5 separate regions of the Homo sapiens genome follow, and all the other regions are linked to region 4. Evidence: promoter capture Hi-C in 16 types of primary human blood cells and fetal thymus (Javierre and others, 2016). All regions are on one chromosome and are shown on one strand. The core of a region is centred on a gene start or on the middle of the fragment in contact, and the rest is flanking DNA. Distances in the headings are between cores, read along the strand shown.

The links. Contacts are between HindIII fragments. The CHiCAGO score rates a contact against its expected background, and 5 or more counts as called.
Region 1: a fragment that was not itself captured here is called in contact with the fragment with the promoter of ZNF235 in region 4 in 1 of 17 cell types (activated CD4 T cells); the score reaches 5.4 in activated CD4 T cells.
Region 2: a contact is called between a fragment that was not itself captured here and the fragment with the promoter of ZNF235 in region 4, in 1 of 17 cell types (naive B cells). The highest score is 6.2, in naive B cells.
Region 3: a fragment that was not itself captured here is called in contact with the fragment with the promoter of ZNF235 in region 4 in 1 of 17 cell types (total CD4 T cells); the score reaches 5.7 in total CD4 T cells.
Region 5: a contact is called between a fragment that was not itself captured here and the fragment with the promoter of ZNF235 in region 4, in 1 of 17 cell types (non-activated CD4 T cells). The highest score is 6.9, in non-activated CD4 T cells.

The regions. Positions count from the first base shown.
Region 1 is chr19:51,579,890-51,584,337 of GRCh38, reverse strand. It overlaps ZNF175 (zinc finger protein 175), which reads right to left. Exons shown (of 5, transcript NM_007147.4): 3 at 2,821-2,947; 4 at 2,456-2,551. Among named protein-coding and RNA genes, the nearest start is that of ZNF175, 11 kb to the right of the region's middle. The HindIII fragment of the contact is 2,613 bases long and covers 7-2,619 here.
Region 2 is chr19:36,749,170-36,753,443 of GRCh38, reverse strand. It overlaps ZNF850 (zinc finger protein 850), which reads left to right. Exons shown (of 5, transcript NM_001193552.2): 5 at 2,640-4,274. Among named protein-coding and RNA genes, the nearest start is that of ZNF850, 22 kb to the left of the region's middle. The HindIII fragment of the contact is 2,006 bases long and covers 1,098-3,103 here.
Region 3 is chr19:37,211,327-37,215,384 of GRCh38, reverse strand. No RefSeq gene overlaps it. Among named protein-coding and RNA genes, the nearest start is that of ZNF585B, 2.8 kb to the right of the region's middle. The HindIII fragment of the contact is 8,273 bases long and covers 1-4,058 here.
Region 4 is chr19:44,303,531-44,308,018 of GRCh38, reverse strand. It overlaps ZNF235 (zinc finger protein 235), which reads left to right and starts at 2,994. Exons shown (of 5, transcript NM_004234.4): 1 at 2,994-3,048. RefSeq lists enhancers at 1,080-1,579, 1,580-2,081, 2,658-3,211. The HindIII fragment of the contact is 5,796 bases long and covers 1-3,427 here.
Region 5 is chr19:36,775,953-36,780,083 of GRCh38, reverse strand. LOC728485 (a long non-coding RNA gene) reads right to left here. Exons shown (of 2, transcript NR_164117.1): 2 at 3,006-4,131. Among named protein-coding and RNA genes, the nearest start is that of ZNF850, 5.2 kb to the right of the region's middle. The HindIII fragment of the contact is 2,027 bases long and covers 810-2,836 here.

The sequences.
Region 1 (4,448 bases), core at 64-2,563, 7.3 Mb before region 4:
TAAGCTTGCTTCATCTGCTTCTTTGTTTCAATTCAAAATGGCTTCTTGAACCAGTTATAGGTACTATGCCCTTAAAATTAATTCCCAATGTCACTCCACCTCTAGGCTGACATCATTTTTCTGAACTTCACCAGCATTTGCTATCCATGCTTCCCATGTTGATACACTTACTTTTTGAGTAGCCTTCCATGAAATAGACATGATTGATGCACAAAGGCTAATACTTTTAACATTTAATGCCATTGTCCTCTCCATCCAAATACAATCTCCGTTCTTTTGAATTTATCTCAGCAAATATTTAAAGCATCCTTTTAAAATACTGTGAAATATTCTTTTCTGCCCATTTTCAGAAAATCAGTAATTTCTGTATCCTAAATACAAAAATCCTAATCCTATATCTTAAATACAATGGTTTCCTCATGCTAAACATTGATATAATGAAGATTAAGAAAGTACAAAGTAATCAGCAGAGTGTATGCAAAGTGAATCATTCTATGGAGTAGACATTAAACAACATACAAAAACAATGGAGCAGAGCATGAGTGATGAAAACTATTCAGGTATATTTTTAAATTGGAAATATGTGGCCATGAGGACAATATCACTGAAAAGAATTTGTTAATCCTACACAGTAGGAAATAGAACTGCCTGTTTTTATCATATCTACTGAGGAAAAAAGAAACAAAATAGCCATGTTTGGGGTCATAAAATCTGTCAGTATCTTGACTAAACTCAAAAACCTGAAATCAACATATCTCACTGGGAACAAAATTGTCTAAATATGAGAAAATGGGGATCTAGTTTGTTGTAATACCACTGGGATTAAGAAAAAGGGTCACTTTTTTCTTAATTAAAACAAGAAAAACTGGTAAGAATTCCAAAGTAATAAATTAAATTAGAGGACTGTGTTTCTGAGCCCAGAAACAGAAAAATCTCACAAAATTTATCAGGTGAGAATTCCTTATTTGGATGATGATGATTCCAATTTCTGATCTCCCAAAATTAAGGAAGTGAGTCATCTCATGGGAACTGTCCTCCGTGGAGCTAAGTAAGGTAGCAGAACACAGTTTAAGCACAGGGACTAGAGGTACTGATATATAAATCATTAGAATAAAAATATGAGGACTAAGAGTTCAGAATGGATGGGTCCTTTAAGTCAATTCCTGTGGGAAAAGATGCCCATAGCCGGGCACGGTGGCTCACGCCTGTAATCTCAGCACTTTGGGAGGCCAAGCCAGGCGGAACACCTGAGGTCGGGAGTTCGAGACCAGCCTGACCAACAAGGAGAAACCCCGTCTCTACTAGAAATACAAAATTAGCCGGGCATGGTGGTGCATGCCTGTAATCACAGCTACTTGGGAGGCTGAGGCAGGAGAATCACTCAAACCTGGGAGGCGGAGGTTGCGGTGAGCCAAGATCGTGCCATTGCACTCCAGCCTGGGCAACAAGAGTGAAACTCTGCCTCAAAAAAAAGAAAAGATGCCCATATGGAAGAACAGGGCCCCAAGCTAGAGGTGCCACAACTGGGAGGAAAAGAAGACAGCAGATCCAGCAAAGAAAAGAAAATAAATAAAATTAGGGGCAAAAAAACTGGAAAAAAAAGGCAGAAAACTCCATGGACGTAAAGAGATAAGCGGTAAGAAAATGCAACAAACAAATGAAAAAGCCAATCAGATAACAGATAAGATGAGAGGCTCTCACCATTCAGTTATTAGAAAAATAACACTTAAGCAATGAAACAGGCTGGGTGCGGTGGCTCACGCCTATAATTCCAGCACTTTGGGAGGCCGAGGTGGGCAGATCACAAGGTCAGGAGATCGAGACCATCCTGGCTAACAGGGTGAAACCCTGTCTCTACTAAAAATACAAAAAATTAGCCGAGTGTGGTGGCGGGTGCCTGTAGTCCCAGCTACTCGGGAGGCTGAGGCAGGAGAATCACTTGAACCCAGGAGGCAGAGGTTGCAGTAAGCCAAGATCGTGCCACTGCACCCTAGCCTAGGTGACAGAGTGAGACTCTGTCTCAAAAAAACCAAAACCAAAAACAAAAAAAAATGAAACAGCCCTTTCACCTATCAGTAGGGCTATAAATTCACCAATTTTGTTAATGCCAAGTGTTAGCAAGCAAGATGTGCAAATGCAAATCCTTGTGCACTGCACATGGGGAGTGTGAACTGGTGCAGCCCATCAGAAGAGCAATATGGTTGATTTAGTCAAGTATACTTATCTCCAGGACCAGGCAATCCCATTCCTGAGTATTCACCAATGGAAAATTCTTAAGGCAGCCCCTATAGGACATTTAACATTTATAGCACATTTACAGTGTTTGATGGGAAACTGGGAGTAGGAGGCAATCTACGGGCCATCACTGGGGGAATGGAGGGAATAGAAAAGTATGGTAGACTGGTAATGGTTCCCTGCAAAGATATCTACATTTGCCCGGGTACAACTTACTCACCTTGACACCTCTGATGTGAGACTTCAGCCTCCTCCACACGCGGCTCCTTTTCTTTTAGCATTCTGAAGATGACCTCTGGGTTGGGAATGTGATACCCTGTTAATTAGAAAGGATACTGGATTTGGGTGTAGCTTCTTCAGTTTTAGAGGCCATTCAATGAAGCTTTACACTGGCTCATTAGAAAAGTCAACATTTTCCACTGGGCACAAAATAATACTAGAAGGTGCCCAAAAGAAACAAACAATCCAGGACAAACCGATAAAAGAGTCATGACATACTTTGATATCCCACTGCGTTCTGCAATGAGGAGGAAGGAAATCTCCTCAACAGGATCCAGCCAAGATTCCCAGGTCAGTTGTGCTCACCCACTGCGAAGAGATGGCTATAGAGCTCCAGCATCACATCCCGGTACAGGCATCTCTGGGCAGGGTCCAGTTGCTGCCACTCCTCCCTGCTGAAGTCCACGGTCACGTCCTCAAATGACACTGATGCCTGTAACAGTGTACCCCAGCTCACTGTGAATTAGGTCATCATTGGCGAGTGGGGATGGCACATATAGGAGGAACATGCTTTTAATGATTTTCACCACGATCCATCACAGAGGCTTCCCACCAAACACCTATTTCACATTTTTAGGGATTTAAAAAAAAATAAGAGAAATATCCTCCATCCACTGTACACCTACATTCATTCATTCATTTTTTTTTTTCAAAAATGAGGCCAGAAATGGGTTCCCTCTAAGTCCTTTAGCTAATTTAGGAATAACCAGCATGATGTTGACGAAGCAACTACATGTGAGGCTGTAGTTGAGCTGGGTTCTGGTGCTCAACACAGAATTACATAAGCTTCTACTCTTGCAGCAACTCAGAGACTTGGAAGACATGTAAATACAAAAGCTCAACTACAGGGTTAAAAAGGGAACATGGTAGAAATATATGCAGAGGACACTGTTGGGGAAGGGCAAATTAGGGAAAGGCAAATTCTACCTAGGAGTAGAAGGTAATGCTACTTAGAGTTGGTGAAGCTTACGCTGGAAGTAAGAACTGTGATGCAGGATGTGTGAAGGAAATCATTTTCCAGAAAAGAGCATGAATAAAACTAGAGAGGTAGGAAAACACTGTGAATTCAGGGAGAAGCAGACAGCTCTGTGTAAGATAAGAGGCGACTATGTCATGTTTGGAAGGTGGTTACCATCCAAGCTCCAAAGAAGTGGGCTGGTGCCTCAATATATAATGGGTATGGATTATTTATTTTAATGAACGGACTGCCATTTCAGGATTTTAAGTGCAGGGAAGAGATATGATCATATAATATTTCAACAAGATGATCTCTCCTGTAATAACTAATATTAGGTTAATGAAAGGACTGATGATGGAAAGATCTTCATTACAGAAGTACTGCAGATGATAAATGCAGCCTGAAGGACAAAACAAAAATGTCACTGTTACTGATCACCAATGACTGCTAAAACCATATGAAAGACTGATGGGTCTTTATAATGGAGGAGTAGGCTGACAATATCTGAACCCAATCATCAATTTTATCACAAGGAGAGAGATAACCAGATATTAAAGTGCACCTAATATGATGCAAAATAAAAAAATAAAAGTAGAGAGGTAGGAAAATACGTGGTGTGCAAACTATTAAGTATCATTTCCAAAAACAAAGAAATCCAAGTGGACTCTGATCAAGCCTCTAGAGGAGAGCCATCCAATGGAAATAAAACATGAACCGTGAATGTGAGCCACACATATAACTTAAAATTGTCTAGTAGCCATGTTTAAAAGACAGATAAAATCAATTTAATGATATTTTTACTTAATCCATTATATTCAAAACATTATCATTTCTATATGTAATATTTTAATATTACATATATTAAAACATTCTATATTCTATATATTGAATATTCTATATTCAATATTTTAAAAATCATCGAGATGAGATGCTTTACATTCTGTTTTCATACTAAGTTTTCAGAAGTCAGCATATA
Region 2 (4,274 bases), core at 851-3,350, 7.6 Mb after region 4:
TTTTTTTTTTTTTTTTTTTTTGAGACAGTGTCCCAGGCTGTTGCCCAGGCTGGTCTTGAACTCCTGGGCTCTGGTAATCTTGCAGTCTTGGCATCCCAAAGTGTTGGGATTAGAGCCATGAACCACCATGCCTGGCTTATAGAACTTTTACTTTTTTTTTTTTTTTTTTTTTCCTGAGATGAAGTCTCGCTCTGTCGCCCAGGCTGGAATGCAGTGGCACAATTTCGGCTCACTGCAAACTCTGTCTCCTGGATTTAAGCAATTCTTCTGCCTCAGCCCCCTGAGTAGCTGAGAATTCAGGCGTGCACCACCATGCCTGGCTTATTTTGTATTTTTAGTAAAGTCGGGGTTTTGTCATGTTGACCAGGCTGGTCTTGAATTCCTGACCTCAGGTGATCCACCTGCCTCAGACTCCCAAAGTGCTGAGATTACAGGCGTGTGCCACCGCACCTGGCCCCGTAGAACTTTTAAAATTTACCATCCATGGCACTCATGGCACCTCAGATTTTTTTTAGAAAACCTCATCACTTCTGAATAAATTTTAGCTGTTCCATCTTGAATATAGTTTGCTCCCTGTTCTTTCAGTATTACTTTCAGGAAGACAAATGAATTCTTTGACTTTTCTTTATGACTTTTAACCTTGCTTTTGCATTTCCAGTTATTTAACCATTCCAGTGAGGTTTTGTTGTTGATTTCTTTCTCTTTTTCTCCTTGAAATTTATATGTTGAAGAAACTGGATCATCTGTCATTTAACATTTAGCTCTCCTCCCTTTACTCCTTTCTTTCCTATAAACAGACTATGTGATATTAGTATTGTGTATTTCATCAAGAAGCACATATCTGGTTGTTTCTGTTTTTGTGAAGTTAGCAGCCATTCCTCATCTCATCCCCTAAAAATTACTAGGTAATTTTAAAATTGTCCTTATGAACACACAGATTTAAAAAAATTTGATGTGATTTATTGTAATTACATTACAATGATTACAGTTTTTATTCTTGAATTCATGCTCAACTTGTCCCATCTTTGGCCAATGGGACCCTCTTCACAATGGTTCCTGAGTCTTTTTGACATGACCCTAGGAGTCTTGAATAAGCTTCTTTGCTTTTCTAATATGCCAGCTTTTTCCATGCTCATAATGCACACTTTCTGTTCTAATCCCAAGATGCTCCAAGGAGCCTAGGTTCTGTGTAGTAAGAAATGGTATTTAGAGACAGTAATCTGTCATTAGCGTGTTCATTGCTGCCAGATTGGTTGTTTCTAAGGCTTCAATGGATGAAGATGTATAGTATTTTTTAAAAATCATGATTGCACTCTTATACTGCCAATTCAAATTCATTCATTGAATTTTAAGTTTCAATGATTCATTTTTTAATTTTTAGATACTGATACCCCATTTGTGTCTTTTACAAAAATTTGCTTGGCCTTTTTGCTAGTGAGATGTTACTTTCTCACTTTAAAAAAGTAAACTTTAGGTTTTAGGATAGTTTTAGACTTACAGAAAAGTTGTGAGGTTAGTACAGAGACTTCCCATATACATCACATGTAGTTTCCCATTAACATTTTATATTTGTACATTTGTCATAATTAATGAATGAATGTTGATCCTATTAAATAATAACATTGTTGAAGCAATGTTGTTATTATTATTTACCTTTCCTATGGTGCTGAGATCTATTATTATTAATGGAAACCCCTACTTTACTCAGATTTCCTTAGCTTTTTTTTTTTTTTTTTTTTTTTTTTGAGATGGAGTCTGGTTTTTGTTGCCTAGGCTGGAGTGCAATGGTACGATCTTGGCTCACTGCAACCTCAGCCTCCCGGGCTCAAGTGATTCTCCTGTCTCAGCCTCCCGAGTAGCTGAGATTACAGGCATGGGCCACACGTCTGGCTCATTTTTGTATTTTTAATAGAGACAGGGTTTCACCATGTTGGCCAGGCTGGTCTTGAACTCCTGACCTTGTGGTCCGCCCGCTTCAGCCTCCCAAAGTGCTGGGATTATAGGTGTGAGCCACTGTGCCTGGCCTCCTTAGCTTTTACCTAATGTCCTTTTTTCCTATTCTAGGATCTTGGCTAGGCTAACACATTGCATTGAGTCATTATGTTTCCCTTGGCTCCTCTTTGCTTTGACAGCTTTTCAGGCTTTCCTTGTTTGTGATTATCTCAATAGTTTTGGAGAGTACTGGCCAGGTATTTCATAGATTGTCTCTCATTTTGGGATTTGTCTGGTGTTTTTCCAGTGATTAGACTGGAGTTCAGTATTTTTAGAAGGAAGATCACAGAGATAAAATACTGTTCTCATCACATCATATAAGGGTACATACTATCACCATGTATACCATGTATGTACACCATCTTTTTTTTTTTTTTTTTTTTTTTAAGACAGGGTCTTGCTCTGTGGCCCAGGCTGGAGTGTAGTGGCACAATCACAGCTCACTGCAGCCTTGAACTCCTGGGCTCAAGCAATCCTCCTGTCTCAGACTCCCAAAGCGCTGGGATTACAGGCATGAGCCACCACGCCCAACACATCTTTAATTCTTAAGGACATTATTTTCAGTTTGTCTCCCCTTTCTACCATAGATGTTTTTATTTCTACTCAACAAGGAAATGCTATGTTTTTGCTTTCTGGTTATTTTTCAGACTCGGAGTTTAGATGTAAGACCAAAGATTCATGTTTGCCAAAAGAAATCTATGAAGTAACATCATCTCAGTGGGTGAGAATGGAAAAATGTCATAGCCTTGTGGGCTCCAGTGTCAGAGATGACTGGGAATGCAAAGGCCAGTTTCAGCACCAAGATATAAATCAGGAGCGATATTTGGAAAAAGCAATAATGACTTATGAAACAACACCAACTTTCTGCCTACAGACATCTCTCACTCTGCATCATCGGATTCATCCTGGAGAGAAACTGTATAAATCCACAGAATGTATGGCTTTTAAGTATGGCTCAGAACTTACACAACAGCAAGAAACCCATACTGGTGAAAAACTCTATAAATGTAAGGAGTGTGGGAAGGCCTTTCATCACTTTTCCTATCTTGTTAAACATCAGAGAATTCATACTGGGGAAAAGCCCTGTGCATGTAAAGAATATGGAAAAGCTTTTATTTCTGGCTCACATCTTATTCAACACCAGAAAATGTATACAGATGAGAGACCTCATGAGTGTCAGGAATCCGTGAAGGCCTTTAGACCGTCTGCACATCTTATTCAACATTGGAGAATTCATACTGGTGACAAACCTTATGAATGTAAAGAATGTGGGAAATCTTTTACTTCTGGCTCAACACTAAATCAACATCAGCAAATTCACACTGGTGAGAAACCCTATCATTGTAAGCAATGTGGAAAATCTTTTACTGTTGGCTCAACACTAATTCGACACCAGCAAATTCACACTGGTGAGAAACCGTATGATTGTAAGGAATGTGGAAAATCTTTTGCTTCAGGCTCAGCACTAATTCGACATCAGCGAATTCACACTGGTGAGAAACCCTATGACTGTAAGGAATGTGGAAAATCTTTTACTTTTCACTCAGCTCTAATTCGACATCAGCGAATTCACACTGGTGAGAAACCCTATGATTGTAAGGAATGTGGGAAATCTTTTACTTTTCGCTCAGGGTTAATTGGACACCAGGCAATTCACACTGGTGAGAAACCCTATGATTGTAAAGAATGTGGAAAATCTTTTACTGCTGGCTCAACACTAATTCAACATCAGCGAATTCACACTGGTGAGAAACCCTATGATTGTAAGGAGTGTGGGAAATCTTTTGCTTCGGGCTCAGCACTACTTCAACATCAGCGGATTCACACTGGTGAGAAACCCTATTGTTGTAAGGAATGTGGAAAATCTTTTACTTTTCGCTCAACACGCAATCGACACCAGCGAATCCACACTGGTGAGAAACCCTATAATTGTAAAGAATGTGGAAAATCTTTTGCTTCTGGCTCAGCACTACTTCAACATCAGCGAATTCACACTGGTGAGAAACCCTATCATTGTAAGGAATGTGGAAAATCTTTTACTTTTCGCTCAGGGCTAATTGGACATCAGGCAGTTCACACTGGTGAGAAACCCTATGATTGTAAAGAATGTGGAAAATCTTTTACTTCTCGCTCAGCACTAATTCAACATCAGCGAATTCACACTGGTGAGAAACCCTATCACTGTAAGGAATGTGGAAAATCTTTTACTGTTGGCTCAACACTACTTCAACATCAGCAAATTCACACTGGTGAGAAACCTTATGATTGTAAGGAATGTGGGA
Region 3 (4,058 bases), core at 938-3,437, 7.1 Mb after region 4:
GAATTGTGTGCTGTGAGAAACACACGACCAGCCATTATTGGGTGTAAAGATGAAAGGAGCCCATGAGCTGAGGAATGCAGGCAGCTTCTCCAACTTGGAAAATGAAAAAAAACAAATTCTCCAGAGCCTCCAGAAAGGAATGCAGCTTGCAAACTTTTGATTTTAGAGCAGAAAAAACTCATTTCTTTTTTTTAATTTTTAATTTATTTTTTTAATTTTTATTTATTTATTTTGAGATGGGGTCTCCCTCTGTTGCCCAAGCTGGAGTGCAGTGGTGGGATCTCGGCTCACTGCAACGTCTGCCTCCTGGGTTCAAGTGATTCTCCTGCCTCAGCCTCCCTAGTAGCTGAGATTACAGGCACCCACCACCATGCCCGGCTAATTTTTCTTTCCTTTTTTTTTTTTTTTTTTTTTTTTTTTTTAAGTAGAGACAGGGTTTCATCATGTTGGCTAGGCTGGTCTTGAACTCCTGACCTCAAGTGATCTGCCTGCCTTGGCCTCCCGAAGTACTGGGATTACAGGTGTGAGCCACTGCACCCAGCATTTTTTTTTTTTTTTTTTTTTTTTAGAGACAAGGTCTTGCTCTGTCTCCCAGGCTGGAATGCAGAGGTATGATCACAGCTCACTGCAGCCTCATACTCCTGGACTTAAGCATCCTTCCGCCTAGGCCTTCTGAGTAGCTGGGACTATTGGTGTACACCACCACACCTGGCTAATTGAAAAAAAAATTTATAGAGAGAGGGTTTAGTTATGTTGCCCAGTCTAGTTTCAAACTCCGGGCCTCAAGTAATCCTCCCACCGAGGCCTCCCAAAGTGCTGGGATTACAGGCATGAGCCACCACAACAGCTGTGTCATCCCAACCCCTCTCTGGGCTTGATCACATAAAGAAGGCTTGCATTCCTCAGATAAAAGCCATTTATTTTCTTTTTCAACACTATGCGGAGTGAGATAAGCCAGACCAAAAGGACAAATATTGTATGAATCCACTTATATGAGGTGCCTAGAATAGGTGTATTCATAGAGACAGAAAGTAGAATTGAAGTTACATGAAGTTATATGAGGTACATGATAAAGCCTCTATACTTAAAACAGTGTGCTATTTGTGTGTGGTTAGAGAGACAGACAAAGGGAGGAGGATGGGAAATGGAGAAATAAACATCCATGGCCGGGCGCGGTGGCTCACGCCCAGCCCTTTGGGTGGCCGAGGTGGGTGGATCACCTGAGGTCAGGAGTTCGAGACCAGCCTGGCCAACATGATGAAACCCCATCTCTACTAAAAATACAAAAAATAAGCTGGGCATGGTGGCATGCGCCTGTCATCCCAGCTACTCAGGAGGCTGAGGCAGGAGAATTGCTTGAACCTGGGAGGCGGAGGTTGCAGTGAGCCGAGATTAAGCCACTGCACTCCAGCCTGGGCAACAGGAGCAAAACTCCGTCTCAAAAAAAGAAAGAAAGAAAGAAATTAACATCCCGGCCAGGCACGGTGGCTCACACCTGTAATCCCAGCACTTTGGGAGGCCAAGGCGGGTGAATCATGAGGTGAAGAGATCGAGACCATCCTGGCCAACATGATGAAACCCCGTCTCTACTAAAAATACAAAAATTAGCTGGGTGTGGTGGCACGCGCCTGTAGTCCCAGCTACTCGGGAGGCTGAGGCAGGAGAATCGCTTGAACCTGGGAGGCAGAGGTTGCAGTGAGCTGAGATTGTGCCACTGCGCTACAGCCTGGTGACAGAGTGAGACTTCATCTCAAAAAAAAAAGAAATTAACATCCACATAGATGCTTAGTATTTGATAAAGGTAGCAGCTCAAATCACCACAGTCACATCATAAAGTTTTATGCAGCCCATACACACACAGCAGAAAAAAAAAAAAACGAAGCTCTCTACGGAATGACATTAACTCTGGAATATATAAAAAATGGAAAGTATAGAACAGTGTAACATATAGTTCGTCTAAAAAAGAAAAGGAAATTAGATTAGATATAAGCATTTGTTTATATTCACTAAAAAAAGAAAAGATAGGAAAAAAGAAGTATTGGAAACGTGAACCAGAAACAATACCTATAGTGATAACCTATAGTGATTGGGGTGGTGGGGGGAGTGAGACTTGATATGTCTTTTTATACAGTTGCATAGGAAAAACAAACTGGTTTTAAAAATATATACTCTCACAACACTCAATACTTCCAGAATGTTTCGTTTTTAACACAAAATATGTGGAGTTTTTCTGACACCACTTCTCCAGCCCTCCCTACATGGGTGTCCTACAATTGAATTCAATTCTGACACTAACCTGAGTTAGCACAGACCTTACAGTTTAATTGCTCAGTCCCACAAGACTGCCCACCTCTTCAGATGCCAATGACAACTACTAGGTCACCTGATTACCAACAACTGCCCAGTTTGCCTGAAAATTAGAGGTTCTCATCATCCCCTTCTTGGATTTGATTCTACCAAACTTTTAAGGGAGAACAAATTCTAATATTTCTCAAACTAATCCAAAAAAATTGAAGGGGAAGGAATTTTTCCAAACTGATTCTGTGAGGCCAGCACCATCCTCATACTAAAACCAGGCAAAGACAGAAGAAAGAGAAAACTACAGGCCAAGATCCCTGATAAACGCAGATGCAAAAATCCTCAACAAAATACTAGCAAACCAAATCCAATAGCATGTCAAAAAGATACACAATGATCAAGTGGGACTTATCCCAGGGAAGCAAAGATGGTTTAACATATGCAGATTAGTATGTGCAATACATCACATTGACAGAATGAAGGACAAAAATCATATGGTCATCTCAATAGAAACAGAAAAAGCATTTGACAAAATTCAACATCTCTTTGCAATCAAAAAAAAAAAAAAACAAAACTCCCTGGCCGGGCTCGGAGGCTCACGCCTGTAATCCCAGTTCTTTGGAGTCTCACTCTGTCACCAGGCTGGAGTGCAGTGGCTCCATCTCAGCTCCCTGCAACCTCCACCTCCTGGGTTCAAGTGATTCTACTGCCTCAGCCTCCCAAGTAGCTGGTACTACAGGCGCACGCCACCACACCCAGCTAATTTTTGTATTTTTAGTAGAGGCAGGGTTTCACCATGTTGGCTAGGATGGTCTCGATCTCTTGACCTCATGATCCACCTGCCTCGGCCTCCCAATGCGTTGGGATTACAGGCATGAGCCACTGCGCCCAGCTGGGATTGCTTTTGAGCCTGGGCAGTCAAGGTTGCAGTGAGCCATGATTGTGCCATTACACTCCAGCCTGGGTGACAGAGTGAGACTCTGTCTCAAAAAAAAAAAAAAAAAAAAAGCAAGATTTTCTTCAGGTGTTTTTAGTCACACGTTGGCCATATTAAAGACTGTTATTATTATTATTGTGCTGTTGTTGTTGTTGTTGTTGTTTTGAGATGGAGTTTTGCTCTTGTTGCCCAGGCTAGAGTGCAATGGCATGATCTCGGCTCACTGCAACCTCCGCCTTCTGGGTTCAAGCGATTCTCCTGCCTCAGCCCCCCAAGTAGCTGGGATTATAGGCACACACCACCATGCCCAGCTAATTTTGTATTTTTAGTAGAGACGGGGTTTCACCATGTTGGTCAGGCTGGTCTCGAACTCCCCACCTAAGGTGATGTGCCCGCCTCGGCCTCCCAAAGTGCTGGGATTACAGGCATGAACCACCACGACCAGCCAAGACTATTATTATTTTTATTGTTGCTGCTTACTATAGTTGTGCTTGAGTTAGCTAGGGTGGATGCTGATGGAGATTAAGGGGATTAAAATATCTATACCTCCCAAAGCCTTCTACCAGCCGTTTCAAAGGGGATGCTTAGACTTCTAACCCCTCTTCCATGGTATCTCCTAGAAGAGGATTGTACTAACCCAACTTCTACCCTATTTCCTAATGTGTTTTCAACTACTAAAAATTGTACCTCCCTTCCTGCAGGATACTACCTACTGTGACATAACTCCGTCTTGCCTAGTGGTTTCACCCAGGAGTGAACTCAGATCCCAGTCCACCCTTCTCCTGAGTGGTGTCTCCAAAAAATAGATTGTACCATCCTGATG
Region 4 (4,488 bases), core at 1,745-4,244:
TAGAATTGTAACTAAAAAAACAGTGATAGATGAATTAAATAGGCTAAACAGTGTTAATTATTGAATTTGGGATATCAGTATATAGAGTTCATTTTACTATTCTCTCTACTTCTATATATGTTTGAAAACTTTGATAATAAAATGTAACAAACTACAGCTGACCTTTGAACAAAACAGGTTTGAACTCTGCAGTTCCACTTATACATACATTGTATTCTGCTTTTGCCATCCCTGACACAGCAAGACCAACCCCTTCTCTTCCTTGTTCTCCTCAGCCTATTCAACTCAGTGAAGATGATGAGGACGAAGATCTTTGTGATGATCTGCTTAATAAATAGCAAAAAATACTTTCTCTTCCTTATGATTTTCTTAATAACATTTTATTTTCTCTAGCTTTATTGTAAGAATACAGTCCAACCAAGGCGGGCAGATCACCTGAGGTCGGGAGTTCGAGACCAGCCTGACCAACATGGAGAAACCCCGTCTCTAAAAAAAAAAAAAAAATACAAAATTAGCTGAGCATGATAGTTTATGCCTGTAATCCCAGCTACTCGGGAGGCTGAGGCAGGAGAATTGCTTGAACCCGGGAGGTGCCATTACACTCCAGCCTGTGCAACAAGAGCAAGACTCTGTCTCAAAAAACAAAACAAAAAACATATATATATATACACATATATATGTTAATTGTTTATGTTATTGGTAAGGCTTCTGGTCAACAGGTTATTGGTAGTTAAGTAAGTTAAGTTTTGGGGGAGTCAAAACTTACAGGTAGATTTTTCAACTGCCCAGGGGTCAGCTCCCCTAACCCTTGTGTTTTTCAATGGTCACCTGTATATTTATACCTGCCTAGGAGAAAAATCACGGCTTCTTTGTTTCATCTAGTTTATTCAACCATAAGACACTTAATTTCATTTATGTCAGGATCAGGATCAAAGTATGTAATGAAATATTTGAAGCCGAACACAAATTAGAAAACAATTCAAGATTTTACACATGCCCATATTACAACGTTGTCTTAGATTCCCGGCCAATGGAGCTGCTTTTGTTTGCCATAACAGTACACATTTAAAATAAATGAAGTTCAAGATATTTCTCTGGCTTAATATTTATATTGCCTTTTTGTGGGTTCTTAGTATATTAGAACGAATAGCACATTAAACAAAACACTGTCATGAGCCCTTAGGTACCTTGAGGAATAATGGAGGGAAAAGAGTCAAACACTTTACTCCCTTCTCTCCTTGTCACCGACCCCTAAATATACACAACTTGGACACTAAGGACTAAAACTCCATCCTCTTTCCCTGCCCCTCACTGATACGGAAGAGGGGAATGGAAGTGCTGGAGGGGAGAAGGGTGTGGTCCCTGACTAGGGCTCTACCCCCAGGCCTGTGGCCACGGACCTAGGTGAGGACAGGCATTCCTGCCTTTGTGCCCAAATATTGCATTTCCCAAGACCACCCTGGCCCACCACGCCCCCATCCTGTGCCTATAAAAACCCTGATACCCTAGCAGGCAGAGACACAAGCTGCTGGACGTTGAGAGGAGAGCATTGGCGGACACACAAACAGCTGGCTGTCGAGAGGCTGTCGAGGGGAGCGGGTCGGCAAAAGAGCACACTGAAGAGACCGGCAGGCCAGCAGGCCATTAACCGGTGGAATAACGCAGTTTGGCCTGGGTAGTCGGAGGAGCGCCCAGGCCGCTGAGAGGCTGACTCCAGGCGAAAACCATCTCCCTTCTGGCTCCCCCTTCTGCTGAGAGCTACTTACAAATCGTTCTCCAAGGTTTCTCCAATCCTTGCACTCTTTCTCCAAGCCTATGTGTGATGCGATTCTTCTGGTACACCAAGGCAAGAACCTCTGGGATACAGAAAGCCCTCTCTTGCTTGCGATAAGTCAGGGGTCTAATTGAGCTAACACAAGCCTCCTACAGATGGCTGAACTAAAAAAGCACCCTATAACACACGCCCACTGGGGCTTCAGGAGCTGTAAACATTCACCCCTAGACACTGCCGTGGGGTTGGAGCCCTACAACCTGCCCGTGTGCATGCTCCCCTAGAGGTTTGAGCGGCTGGGCACGAAGAAGCGAGCCACACCCCATCACATGCCCTGGGAGAGGGAGAAGTGAACTTTTCCCGTTTCATCACAATTTACTTTCGGCACTAACATGATTGTTCAGCTGTCTTCATCAGCAGGCCTTTATTCCAGGAGATTCCTGCCCAAGCAAACTGTTTAATTGTTCATTATGGGAACTTCCACAGAGACCCATCAAATTTTCAATCTCTTCCAAAGAAAGTGTCAATAGATTGCAATTTAAGATTCTTTGCTTCAAAAATCCTTGCTATATCCACCAATCCTGGACTGTAGTATCATGATCATTATGCAATACTAATAAAATCCCTTGCATTGAAAGACCCGCCTTAAACATCCAGTTCTCAATCAGTTCCAACCTTGCCTTGACACTTTGCTCTGTGAAGGTGCCAACGCTCCGTCGAAGTGTTGTTCTCCATTACTGCAATCAACAATAAATTCTGTTTTTTGTCTTATCAACAGGTTGAGTTGATGATATTTGGGGAGCCGGCATTTGACACAAGTTTGAGATCTGGTGTTCCTTAACGTTCAGCGTCCATCGGAGCTCAGCCTAAGTCACTTTTACGCTTCCCATTTTAGCCTACCCTCTGCTTCTGCGAAAAATTTTGGTTTCTAACTTATTTTAATAATACAAGCTGCACTTTTCATTTTTATATGTCATCACTTTAAAAATTTTACAATTATTTTCTCATGAGCTTTTAAAAATGAATAAAACAAAAACGAATCTCACAGTAGTAGCACCAGAGAAGTGGCTCAAACCCAACCGGCTTGAGTCAAAACAAAGCCCAGCTGGTGGGAAGCGCTGCCCTTGGAGCATTCTGGGAACTGTAGTCCAGGAGTGAGAGAACTCTGAGACGCTTCCGCTTAGGAATTCTGGGAAGTGGAGTCCACGAACCGTGGGCACTCGGAGGCACTTCCGCTCCAGGAAGGCGAGGTCGGATCTGAGATATCTCCCAGGGAGGTGAGTCAGCTCCGGGTCTCCAAGACTTCTCCGAGCCCTCTTTGCCTAGGCGTGGGGCCAGCAATGAACCCGTCCTTGGCTTGGGGAAGAGAAGCCGCGGCCAGCGCTGGAGGGCGGGGTTGGGAGGCTGCGGGAGTTTGCGTCCCCTCGGCAGAACCTCTTGCGTGGGAGGCGGGCTCGCGTCGTCCTTCGAGGTTGAGGGTCTGCTGCCCTAGCCGTCCTCACGCACCTACCAGCCAGTCCTGCCTGCTCCTCGCAGTAAAATATTGGGCAAGTTACTTAATCTCTCCTTGTCTCAGTTTCCTCGTGCCTGTAAAGGGTTAGTGCGTTCCCAGTGATGTTCTTGTGAGAATTAAATGAGGTTTTATAGAAATAAGCTTAAAACCAGTGCATAGGAAAATGTTGGATGCCACCGTTAATTCTGTTATAATACTGAAAAAGACGCCTGTTGTTTGGAAACTCCTCTGAGTCTAGGAGATCCAGCTACGGAGCCGCTGTCCCTTCTCTAATCCTTGCCTGATGTGGGGCCGTTCCTGGATTCTTGGACTTTTCTAGCCTCTTGTTTAGGAGACAGGAATTAGTTCCAGCGGAGCCTGGGGAATGTCCTGTGTGTTTTATCTCAGATAAGCGATCGTCATTACGGATTTGCAGAGTGCCAGAGGTGTCCTGAGGCCCTAATAAATGTTCAGTATAATGTGGTTATAACCAATAATCCCGTGTGGTTAACTTAAGTGTAACACCATTTCTTAGAGAGTTTTAGGTTTTTATTAGTCATTGCTTTCATGCATGTGGAAAAAGAGACTTTCTTGAGGCTCCTCCAGCTTAGTAACATTTGCAAGTAATTACATCTGTTGGAGGAAAAAAAAACCTGTGGCAGTTTAACTATCATTACCAACGGAACTAATTATGTTAGACAACCAATCACAGTTACAGACTTTTCTGAGGGTAATGGTAACTCACAGGACAGAGCAATTATTTTTGAGTTCTGGGTTTCTTAAAAGATTCATTTTCTAGAAAGCATACTCAAAAGGGCAGTTTTATGAAGCATAATAGCACTTGCTTGTCAGAAGCTGCAGGAAATAGAGAATACAGGCATTATTATTGTCCCCATTCACAGGTAACTGAATTAAGGCACAGAGAGATTAATAATTCGCTTAAGGTTTATACTGCTGATCAGTTGAAAATAGGTAGAAATGCCAAAATTTGAAGCCAGGCATTTTGGCTCTGTTACATTCCCCTGCCTGTCTGTGTCTCATTTCCTTGGAAACTAAAGTTCAGAAGGAGTACACAGAGAGCTGTATTTGATTTAGGTCTGTTAATATGAAATGTTCATGAACAAAAGCAGCTGGTTGAGGGGGCCGAGGGGTAGCTGGGAGCTAGCTCCCGTTCTCCTCACTAAGCCGTGTGCAACTGTGTCTGCCTAGAGACAGGGGGACCTTT
Region 5 (4,131 bases), core at 574-3,073, 7.5 Mb after region 4:
ATTTTTCAGCATCTTTAGTGTAACTGTGCCTCTGCTTGGAATACCCTTCCACACTGCTGACTCCTCACCACCAAAGCTCAAGGGTTATCTCTCAGTCACCTGTCCTATCAATGCTACGGGAAGTATCCCTCAAGTTACTGCTTATACCACCTATTGATTTATTTCATAGTATTGATCACGATATAAAATTACCTCATTTTCTCCTTTTACTTTAAAATCTTTTTTTTCTCCCAGACTAGAATGTAAACCTCACGTAGGCAGCAGACATGTCTGCTTACTTTTTTTTGTGAGACGGAGTTTTGCTCTGTCACCCAGGCTGGAGTGCAATGGTGCGATCTCAGCTCACTGCAACCTCCGTCTCCCAGGTTCAAGTGGTTCTCCTGCCCCAGCCTCCCGAGCAGCTGAGATTACAGGCGCCCACCACCACACCCGGCTAATTTTTGTATTTTTAGTAGAGATAGGGTTTCACTATGCTGGACAGGATGGTCTCGAACTCCTGACCTCAGGTGATCTGCCTGCATGTCTGCTTACTTTTGATAAGTATCTTTACTGATTGATTGACCGAGGCAGAGTCTTGCTCTGTTGCATAGGATGGAGCGAAGTGGTGCAATCATAGCTCACTGCAGCCTTCAACTCCTGGCCCCAAGAGATCCTCGCAACTCACCTTTCCCAGTAGCCGAGACTACAGGTACATACCACAAGGCCTGGCTAATTTAAAAAGTGTTTTTTGTAGAGATGGGGTCTTGCTTTGTTACCCAGGCTGGTCTTGAACTCTTGGAGTCAAGCAATCCTCATGCCTTTCTAAAGCTTTTACTATTTGAATTAAAATGAACAAATCAGGAAATGAGCAAAGTCTGTCTCTGAAAAACTGAATTCTCTCCCCAAAGACACTGCATGTAACATTATTTAATAATAAGATAGTGGCCAGGCGCGGTGGCTCAGACCTGTAATCCCAGCACGTTGGGAAGCCGAGGCGGATAGATCACAAGGTCAGGAGTTCAACACCAGCCTGGCCAAGATTGTGAAACCCCATCTCTACTAAAAATACAAAAATTAGCTGGGCGCGGTGGCAAGCACCTGTAACCCCAGCTACTTGGGAGGCTGAGTCAGGAGAATCGCTTGAACCGGGCGGGGGCGGAGGTTGCAGTGAGCTGAGATTATACCATCGCACTCCAGCCTGGGTGACAGAGTGAGACTCTGTCTCAAAAAATAATAATAATAAAAATAAAGATGATGATAGTTGGGCTGGGCACAGTGGCTCACACCTGTAATCCCAGCACTTTGGGAGGCTGATGCAGTCAGATTGCTTGAGCCTAGGAGTTCGACACCAGCCTGGAGACGGTCAAACCCCGTCTCTATAAAAAATAAAAAAATTAGCTGGGTGTGGTGGCACATACCTGTGGTCCTAGCTACTTGAGAGGCTGAGGTGGGAGGATCACCTGAGCCCAGGAGGTTGAGGCTGCAGTGAGCTAGGAGTGCAGCACTGCACTCCAGCCTGGGCGATAGAGCAAAAGGCCATCTCAAATAACAATAATAATAATTGGATAGTAACAAATGTTTGACTCCAACAAGTATGCTGCAAAACAATGCTATAAATAATGAGAAAATAGACAATGCGTGGTTCGGCTTGGTGGCTCACGCCTGTAATCCCAGCACTTTGGGAGGCTGAGGTGGGCGGATTACGAGGTCAAGAGATCGAGACGATCCTGGCCAACATGGTGAAACTCCGTCTCTATTAAAAATACAAAAATTAGCCAGGTGTGGTGGCAGGTGTCTGTAATCCCAGCTACTCAGGAGGCTAAGGCAGGAGAATTGCTTGAACCAGGGAGTCGGAGGTTGCAGTGAGCCGAAATCGCGCCGCAGTACTCCAGTCTGGCGACAGAACGAGACTCCATCTCAAAAAATAAAAATAAATAAAAATAAAAGGGATGAAAGATGACAAAACTACCAGAAGAAATCAGAAATTATAACATCCAACTAAAAGGATGTTTAGAATTTCAGAAAGAGAGAAGAAAAATGAATGGAAGAAAACTTCACAGAACAAACAAAAGGCGATTTCTAGAAACACAGATCATGAGTCTTCAAAATATTAATACAAAGATCCACTGAGTACCTTGTACAACGAAAGAAACAAGAACCACACCAAAACACATTTCTGTGAAATTTCAGAAAACTAGTACGAAGAGACAATTTTAAATGTTTTTTAAAATTATTATTATTATTATTATTGAGACAGGGTCTCACTCCATTGCCCAGGCTGGAGTCCAGTGTCGCGATCTTGGCTCAACTGCAACCATGCCCTCTTGGGTTCAAGCAATTCTCCTGCCTCAGCCTCCTGAGTACCTGGGACTACAGGTGCATGCCACCTCACCCAACTAATATTTTGTGTTTTTAGTAGAGACAGCGTTTCACCATGTTGGCCAGGCTGGTCTCAAACTCTTGACTTCAGGTGATCTGCCCACCTCGACCTCCCAAAGTGCTGGGATTACAGGTGTGAGCCACCACACCCGGCCTATTTTTACTTTTATGAAAACAGGGTCTCCTTATGTCATCCAGGCTGGTTTTGAACTCCTGAGCTCAGGCAATCCTCCTGCCTCGTACTCCCAAAACTCTGGGATTACAGGCATGAATCACTGAGCCTGGCCTTTAAATGCTTTGAAAGACAAAGAACAGTAACAGAACACAAATCAAATTGTCATATTTTAAGATAAACACTGTAAGCTAGCAGACAATGTTATATAATTCAAAATTCTAAGTGAAAACCACATTCAACCTAAAATTTCAAACCTAGTTAAGGTGTCATCCAAAAGAGGTAGAATACAGACACTGTCAAGCTTATAAGGGTCCCAAAGTTTTAACCCAAATTCGCCTTTGTCAAAATGGTAAACAAAATAAGAACGTGTTTTTTACAAAAATGAGAAGCTAAACCAAGAAAAAAAAAAAAAAGACATACGCTCCAAGAAACCAGGGACCCAATATAAGAGGCACAGGAAATGCCCGAGATGTTCAGGTGCTGGGTATTTATTTATTTATTTAATTTTTTCTGAGACGGGGTCTTGCTTTGTCACCCAGGCTGGAGGGCAGTGGTGCCATCACGGCTCACTGCAGCCTCGACCTCCCAGGCTCAAGCCATCCTCCCAACTCAGTTCTTTTGCCAGTTGGCATCCTTTTACTTATTCATTGATGAATCCCACATATTCATTTATTCACTCTACAGTGGTGAAATCTCTTAGAATTATTTTCACTAAGTAATAAAAGTTAACATCACCAAGAATGGAACACATTGACACTGTGTGTCTCTCGATGGGATAAACCACATGAGTTATGTGGTATTCCTCCCAAAGATACATAAAAGATGAGGTACATCCAAATTAAAGAACACTCTACAAAATAACTGTCCCGGCGCGGTGGCTCATGCCTGTAATCCTAGCACTTTGGGCAGCAGAAGTGGGAGGATCTCTTGAGCCCAAGAGTTTGAGACCACACTGGGCAACATAGAACACCCCATCTCTACAAAAAATAAAAAATTACCCGGGCGTGGTGGCGCAGGCCTGTAGTCCCAGCTACTCGGGAGGCTGAAGCAGGAGGGTCCCTTGAGCCCAGGAGTTCGAGGCTGCAGTGAGCTATCATCGCGCCACTGTATTCCAGCCTGGGCGATACAGCAAAGCCCTGTCTCCAAAAATAAAACCAAAAACCAAAAAACAAAACCCCAAAAAAACTCACCACCACCAAAAAACAAAATAAGTAACCTGTATTCTTTGAAAATGTCAAGGTCGGGAACAGGTAGGATACACAGAAAACAAATAGGTGGAAGATTTAAATCGAAATATTTTAGTAGTTTCATTAAATGTACAGAGGAGAGTATGTGCCTATCATTGGGAGTCTGAGACAAGATAAAAGCACGGATCTCATAACAATAAATTACTTTGAAATCTTCTTTCTTGCTCAGTACAGGTCCCGCCGCCGCGCCGCCTGGCTCTCGTATTCCTGGTTCTCGGCGGGCTGTGGGGCTTCCGCGCCGCAGCCGTTAGTCTCGTCGGGTAGGTGACTCCTTCAGCGAGCAGGCGCAGCGACGAGAAAGGCCTGGCGGGGTTGCGCTGTCTTCCCGCCCACCGGAAGGCCCTGAGGAGA